Linked DNA regions of Homo sapiens: region 2 is linked to region 1. The links are contacts of gene promoters, found by promoter capture Hi-C in blood cells and fetal thymus (Javierre and others, 2016). All regions are on one chromosome and are shown on one strand. The core of a region is centred on a gene start or on the middle of the fragment in contact, and the rest is flanking DNA. Distances in the headings are between cores, read along the strand shown. Region 1 holds the start of OXR1-AS1 (OXR1 antisense RNA 1). Region 2 overlaps EIF3E (eukaryotic translation initiation factor 3 subunit E).

What was found. Contacts are between HindIII fragments. The CHiCAGO score rates a contact against its expected background, and 5 or more counts as called.
Region 2: a contact is called between a fragment that was not itself captured here and the fragment with the promoter of OXR1-AS1 in region 1, in 7 of 17 cell types (total CD8 T cells, total CD4 T cells, non-activated CD4 T cells and 4 more). The highest score is 15.4, in total CD8 T cells.

The regions. Positions count from the first base shown.
Region 1 is chr8:106,655,869-106,659,199 of GRCh38, reverse strand. It overlaps OXR1-AS1 (OXR1 antisense RNA 1), which reads left to right and starts at 1,480. Exons shown (of 3, transcript XR_007061059.1): 1 at 1,480-3,089. The region is part of intron 3 of OXR1 (oxidation resistance 1); the gene reads right to left. RefSeq lists silencers at 870-1,019, 1,060-1,309 and an enhancer at 1,380-1,589. The HindIII fragment of the contact is 2,439 bases long and covers 1-2,311 here.
Region 2 is chr8:108,243,478-108,246,808 of GRCh38, reverse strand. The region is part of intron 1 of EIF3E (eukaryotic translation initiation factor 3 subunit E); the gene reads left to right. Among named protein-coding and RNA genes, the nearest start is that of EIF3E, 3.6 kb to the left of the region's middle. The HindIII fragment of the contact is 1,352 bases long and covers 985-2,336 here.

The DNA of each region.
Region 1 (3,331 bases), core at 231-2,730:
ATCACTTGAGGCCAAGAGTTAAGACCAGCCTGGGCAACACAGCGAGACTCCATCTCTACAAAAATAAAGTAAGATAAAATTTAAAATAAAATGACTGGCACGATGTGGAGTTATAAACAGATTTTACACACTTTGTGCCTATCTCTATTTTCTAAACTCTCTAATGCTCATTTATTTTCATAACCCTCAAATATTAAAGCAATTAACAAAAATAAAAATCAGACATGGCTAGGATGTCTGCTACCTGTTAAACGAAGCCAAGGACACTGGAAGTTACCCTATGCATTATGCTAAAACTGTTCAGCAGCACTTTCAAAAATTCTTTAAGTTATCAATATCATGTCGCTACAAATGACTGTTTTAAAGAATGGTACAAAGCCACTGTGGTGAAAAAAATCGGCCAACACAACACAAAATAAACAGGAACTGAGAAAGTTTCTAGGTTCTGCCACCACAAGACAACGTGCAGCCGTTCAAAAAGTACACGACGCAAAATGTCAACTAGCTTCCAATGTTAATGAAGTGTTTTATTTTACAAAGAAGTATCTGGCTTTTTATTTTTCGGTTAGGAAGTGAATCCTAACAACTGAGAAATATTAAGGAAAGACTGACCCAAACCAAAACCAAAGCAGGCACAGCGCTCTTCAAGAATCCAAGACTGAAAACACGGACGTCATAACTGGTTCAGTCTTCACCTCCCAGTGGGAGGGAAAGAGAGAATGGATCGTCCCCTTGAAATACTTGGCGGGGAAAGAAAATCAAGTCTAGGTGAGGAAAGCAGGAAGAGCAGAGCAGGAAGAGCTGGCACGCAGCTGAAAGTCTTCCCTCCCCAGAGCCGAACGAGTCCTTCCTTCCTCGCCCCCGGCGGCCGCCACCCCGGCCACGTTGCCCGCCCCGGCCCAGGCACACCTGCCAGAGCCGGGCAGCGACCCCCGCCCGGCGCCACGACCGCCGCCTCCCCACAGCCCTCAGCCCAGGTCGGCCGCGCGGGAGGCGAAAGAAAGGTGGGCTCACCAGGTCCCTCCGGGCTGGACGGCGCCGGGGGCCGGTGGGGCGGGGACCCGCACCCGAGGTCCCCCTGGGCTGGCTCCCTCAGGTAATCTTCGAAGCGCACCTGCCGGGCTTCGCCGCCGCCCCCGAACCCCAACAGGCGGTTGGCCGTGCCCCGCAGAAGGCGCCCACTCTTCTCGGTGAACGTCGTCAGGTAGTCCATGCTGCCGCGGGGCTGGACGCGGAACTGGGGCCCAGGAGGTCGACGGTTTCGGCGGTGGCGGCCACCACTAGCGCGCCCACCGGCCCATCAGACCTGACCCAGGGGAGGCGGCTCCGCGCGCCTCACAAGAGGCGGGGAGGAGGAGGGGGCGTCCCTCTCTCTGCCCGGGGACGGACCATCAGGAAACCACGCGTCGGGGGAGCAAAAGACGGACAAAAGTTTTCGAAAAGTTTTTCTTGTGGCTTCTAAATGCAAAATGAGGCAGAACTTAGCTTGTCACATAGGTGTATTCTTCCTGGAACCGATGCGGGGTCAGAAAACTGATGGCTTTTAAGCAAGCTGGACGGGTCCTCTCAGCGCATTCCCCCACCCGCCTGGCGCCAATGGAGCTGGCCTGGCCCGCCCAGCCCCTCCCCGCCCCGTCCGCGCTCGGACCGGACTTTCAGGACTGCAGGGGAAAGGGTGGACACCCAGCCTCCCGCCAGGTCAGAGCAGAGGCTAAAAATGGCCCAGGGGAGACTGCTGGAGTTGCATGGAGTTCGGGAGCCTAGGAGGGGTCTGAAAATAACTGTCAAAAAGTTTGAAGGGTGTGTGTTGGCTTGGGGAAAAAAGAGGGTGGAGTGCATTACATAAAACTTTTGCAGCTTGTATTTCCTTTTTTTTTTTTTATGTTTAAGGACGGCGGAGATACCTTCAACGTAAGACTGCAATCATAATTAAAACATGAATAGTAACATTTTAAGTTCGTTGTGCCATTATGAACTCATGTTAGTGTTGGACATTCTATGATCCCAGTCCTGTTTAGGCAACGTTATTGAGGGATTTAGTTTGCGGATCTACCTTTCAGGGACAAAGAACCTAGACAGGGAAAGAACAGTAACTTTTGACAGAAATTTTGCTTCCTGTGAGATGTGGTTATTCTCTTCCTTTCACATCTGTTTGTAGTTCTTTTAGTTTTCCCAGGCATTAAATAAATTAAACCCTCTTTCTTGGAATCACCAATATATTAATATATTGGGGGGAAAAAGATTTGAATTACTTAGGAAGTTGATGAACTACCCACTCCAACAATAGAGCCCTGAAAATCAGGCTTAAGCTTTTGGCCATACTACTAAAGACTATCCCTCCTGACAAACACACACCCTCTTTTTTTTTTTTTTTTTTTAACTGGTTGACAGATCTTTTTTGCATCATCACCATTTTCAGTTTAGATTCTTACTAGGTGGGATAAATTTCACCATTCTAATATCAGCCATCACCATTATGCCTGGTGAAAAATACAGAATGTCTGGGCTGCATCCTCAGAGTGTCTAATTCGGTGTTTATGGGAAAGGGACCCAGGAGAATCTGCATACCCAGCAATCCATGTTTTCAGGGTTGTGGCTTGGGAAAGAACTGTTCCAGACTTCTGCACTTCCTAAGGACCTATTTTGTAGATGTTGCAGTGGACGGAATGTTTGTGCTTTCCCTTAAATTCATTTGTTAAAATCCTAACCCCAATGTGATGGTATTAGGAGATGGGGCCTTTGGGAGGTAATTCATAGCATAGAGGCCGCATGAATGCGATTAGTGCCCTTATAAAAAAGGGACCCAGAGAGCTGTCTCCATCTTTCTGCCACAGGAGGATACAAAAATACATCAGTTTGCAAACCAGAAGAAGGTCCTCACCAGAAACCAACTATGCTGGCACCCTGATCTTGGACTTCTAGCCTCCAGAACTGTGAGAAATAAATGTGTGTTTATAAACCAGTCAGTCAGTCTATGGTGCTTTATTATAGCATCTGGAACGAGCTAAGACAGCTGCTAAGTAGCATTCCATTTGACAAGGAAGACTTACCATTCACACTACTTCTGAGTTCAATGAAAGAGAGGCTCGGTAAGTTTTAAAAATCAAATTTCAATGACTTAGTCTAATTCTCATTAATAATTTAAATTATTTTTCTAAGATATGTTTTACATCTTCTAAAAATTTACCGGTTTGTTATAAGCATATCCAATTAATGCTTGAGATTTTACCTGATTAGATCTGCACTTTTACATCCAACATTTGCAGGAAGCTTCATTCTACCAGTTCAAATCCAGATTTACAGGTAGTTAACCCATCTGTTTTGGGTTTTT
Region 2 (3,331 bases), core at 411-2,910, 1.6 Mb before region 1:
ACATTTACTTTTTAGTAAGTGGAAGTACATCATCATGAAGGTCTTCATTGTCTTCATATTGAGTAGGCTGAGGAGGAGGAGTAAAAGGAGGGGTTGGTCTTGCTGTTTCAGGGGTAGCAGAGGTGGAAGAAGTAGAGGAAGTGGATGGGAAGTCAGGAAAGGCAGGCACACTTGGTGTAACTTTTATTGAAAAAAAGTTGTGTATACGTGGACCTGTGTGGTTCAAACCCTTGTCGTCCAAGGGTTAATTGTATAGGGCCATATAACTGAGAAATCCAAGATAAAACCCAGACATCTCACCACTAAACAACTTACCTATCCTTTAGAGTTGAATGTTTTTGATATAAGGTAAAAATAAATGTCGAAGAGGTAGGTACTGGTAGAGTGCTATCAAAATTGAGATTTTGTTATCTTCAGTGAGCAAAGAGGACTTTGAGGAGGTGAGGCTTTGAGTCTTGAAGGCAAAATGGTTAGAATAGAGTCAGTGATCCTGCTATGTGAGGATACAGCAGCCCCCCCCCCCCACACCCCCTTAGCAGTTTCAATTTCTGCAGTTCCAGTTACTCATGGTCCAAAAATATTAAATGGAAAATTCCAGAAATTAGCAATTCGTAAGTTTTAAATTGTTCGCCCTTCTGGGTAGTAGGATGAAATCTGTCTCGCTCTCTTGCTTAAAACTGGGACATGAATCATCCTTTTGTCCAATGTATCCACACTGTATATGCTAACTTAATTGTTCTATTTTGTTATTGTTCATCTCTTGTTCCCAGTTTATAAATTAAACTTTATCATAGGTATGCATGTATAGGAAAAAAACAGTAAATATAGGATTGGGGCTATCTGCAGTTTCAGGCAGCAGCCGCTGGGGGGTCTTGGAACATTTAGCTCATGGATAAGGGGAGACTATTACATTGCACCAAGAGAAAAACAGTTTCATATATTTGTAGTACATTGGAGAATATAAGCTTCATGAGAGCAGAAGCTTCCTTGTGCTCTCAGCACATAATATGAGTCTGGCATAAAGGCTTTTTATGATTGTTTAATAAATGATTGAATGAATACATACTTGTTTCTCACTCTTCTTTATTTTCATGTGAAGCAGAAGGCCAGATAGTGAAATATTTAGGACCCTGGGCTCTGAATTGGACCTTTCATGACTCGGTCATTTAATACCTCTGTGCAGTCAGAGCAGATTCTTTTACCCTCTTAACCTTTTCTCATGAATAAAATGTTAATACTACCACCAATCTCATCGGGTTAGAAAAATTACATGAGATAATGCATATAAAACACTACGCTCTTCTGGGACAGAGTGAGTACTCCTTAATGTTTTGTGTTTTGAGACAGGGTCTCGCTTTGTCACCTAAGCTGGAGTGCAGTGGCACAATCTTAGCTCATTACAGCCCTGACTTTCTGGGCTCAAGCAATTCTCCCACCTCAGCCCCAGAAGTAGCTGGGACTACAGGTGTGCGCCACCATGTCCGGCTGATTTTTTTTGTATTTTTTGTAGAGATGGGGTTTCACCATGTTACCCAGGCTGGTCTCAAACTCCTGAACTCAAGTGATCTGCCACCTTGGCCTCGCAAAGTGCTGGGATTACAGACATGAGCCACCACCCTTGGCTCTAAATGTTTTTTATTTTGGAAGACTAGCCCATTCTGTATTGGTATGGGATGGGAGGGGGGGGCAGTGAGGGTTTTGAGGAGTAAGGTAAGGACTGGAAATGGTTACTAAGAAACTGATCAAAGGAAAGTACAAGGATTGGTTAAGTGTGGAGGGCCCAACTGAGATTGGAAATCATACCTTAGAGCTAATAATGGGGTCATTCTCAGGGCGAGGAGCGGTAGAAGGCTATGGGAGTAGTATAGACATATTTAGGGGTAGGCTTGTATGTAAATGCCATTTAGAGAAGCACAGATGTGATCGAATAACATTATTCCCTAATTTTGAAACATTTTGTAGTCATCCTTAGCCAGAACCTAGAGAATAGGTGACTTTTTTTCCAGAGTTAGTGATTGACACTGAATTGTATATAGTTGGAGAAATTAGTTTGAAAGAATCAATGATAGAACTGAAGAGAAAATCTTTGAAATAGCTAAAAATGATATCCAAACTAAGGCAGAAAGTGACATCAAAAAGGGTATTACAAAAATTAGAAAGGGCAGAAAGTCTGAGATGATGAAGATTTTAATGGTAATGGTGGAAGGGGTTATCAGTTTTAAGTTGGAATTCTTGGAGATGAGGGGTTATCAGTTTTAAGTTGGAATTCTTGGAGATGAGATACATGATGAAAATTGTCATAATTTGAGGAATAAAGGAATTTTAGGGCTCAAGCTTTTAAAGAGTCATCAGTATGGCATTATATTTGTGTTGAATGACAGCAGAGGAAGAGACAGCAAAAAAAGATTCTTAATCTGTTAAAAAGTAATATGTTTTCAAGAGGTTGATAGACGACGGATCAGCAGACTATAGCCTGGGAATCAGATAGCAGCCTGTTTTTGTGTGGTTTTGGGGCTAAGAATAGTTTGTAACAGAGGAACATTTGCAAACATTAGCAATTATAGAATATTAACTTTATACCCCAATTAAGTGAAATAATTTCTCTTGAAAAAGCATTCTATTCTTATTAATAGACCTGTATTACAAAAACTTTTACTGTTATTATTTCTGTTTCAAAATTTTTAAAAAATTGTGGAAATTTGATTCTCGTTTTTCATGTGAGTACTTATATAGTATTTTCAATTGTTGCTTCTTGATACAAAGTCTGAAGTATTTGCTTTCTGCTTATGAGGCAGAATTGAGAGGCATATGTAGATTTGAGAACAGGACAGTAACACCTGATGGTAGAGGAGCAAGGCTATTGAATCTATTGTGGAGAGAGACGTGGCAAATTAAAAGTTACTAGTGGAGTGGGGAGAGGTAGCGTGCTTGGAAAAGAATGTTTTTATTTAAGATTAGTGTTTCTATAGGGCAAAGTGATGAGAAGTTAAGGTTTTTTAGGTAAATTTTTTATCAGATATGACGTTCATTCATACAAGTACACAAATATAAATGTACTGGTCAATGATACATATTTTTTTCAAAATGAATAGCGAATACATTTATGTGACCACCACTCAGATTAATAAATAAAACATTACAGACATCCTTTTTTTTTTTTTTTTTTTTTTCTTTTTTTTTGAGACAGAGTCTTGCTCTGTGGCCCAGGCTGGAGTGCAGTGGCGCAATCTCGGCTCACTGCAAGTTCCACCTCCTGGGTTCACGTCATTCTCCTGCCTCAGCCTCCCGAGTAGCTGGGACTACAGGCGCCCACCACCACGCCCGGCTAATT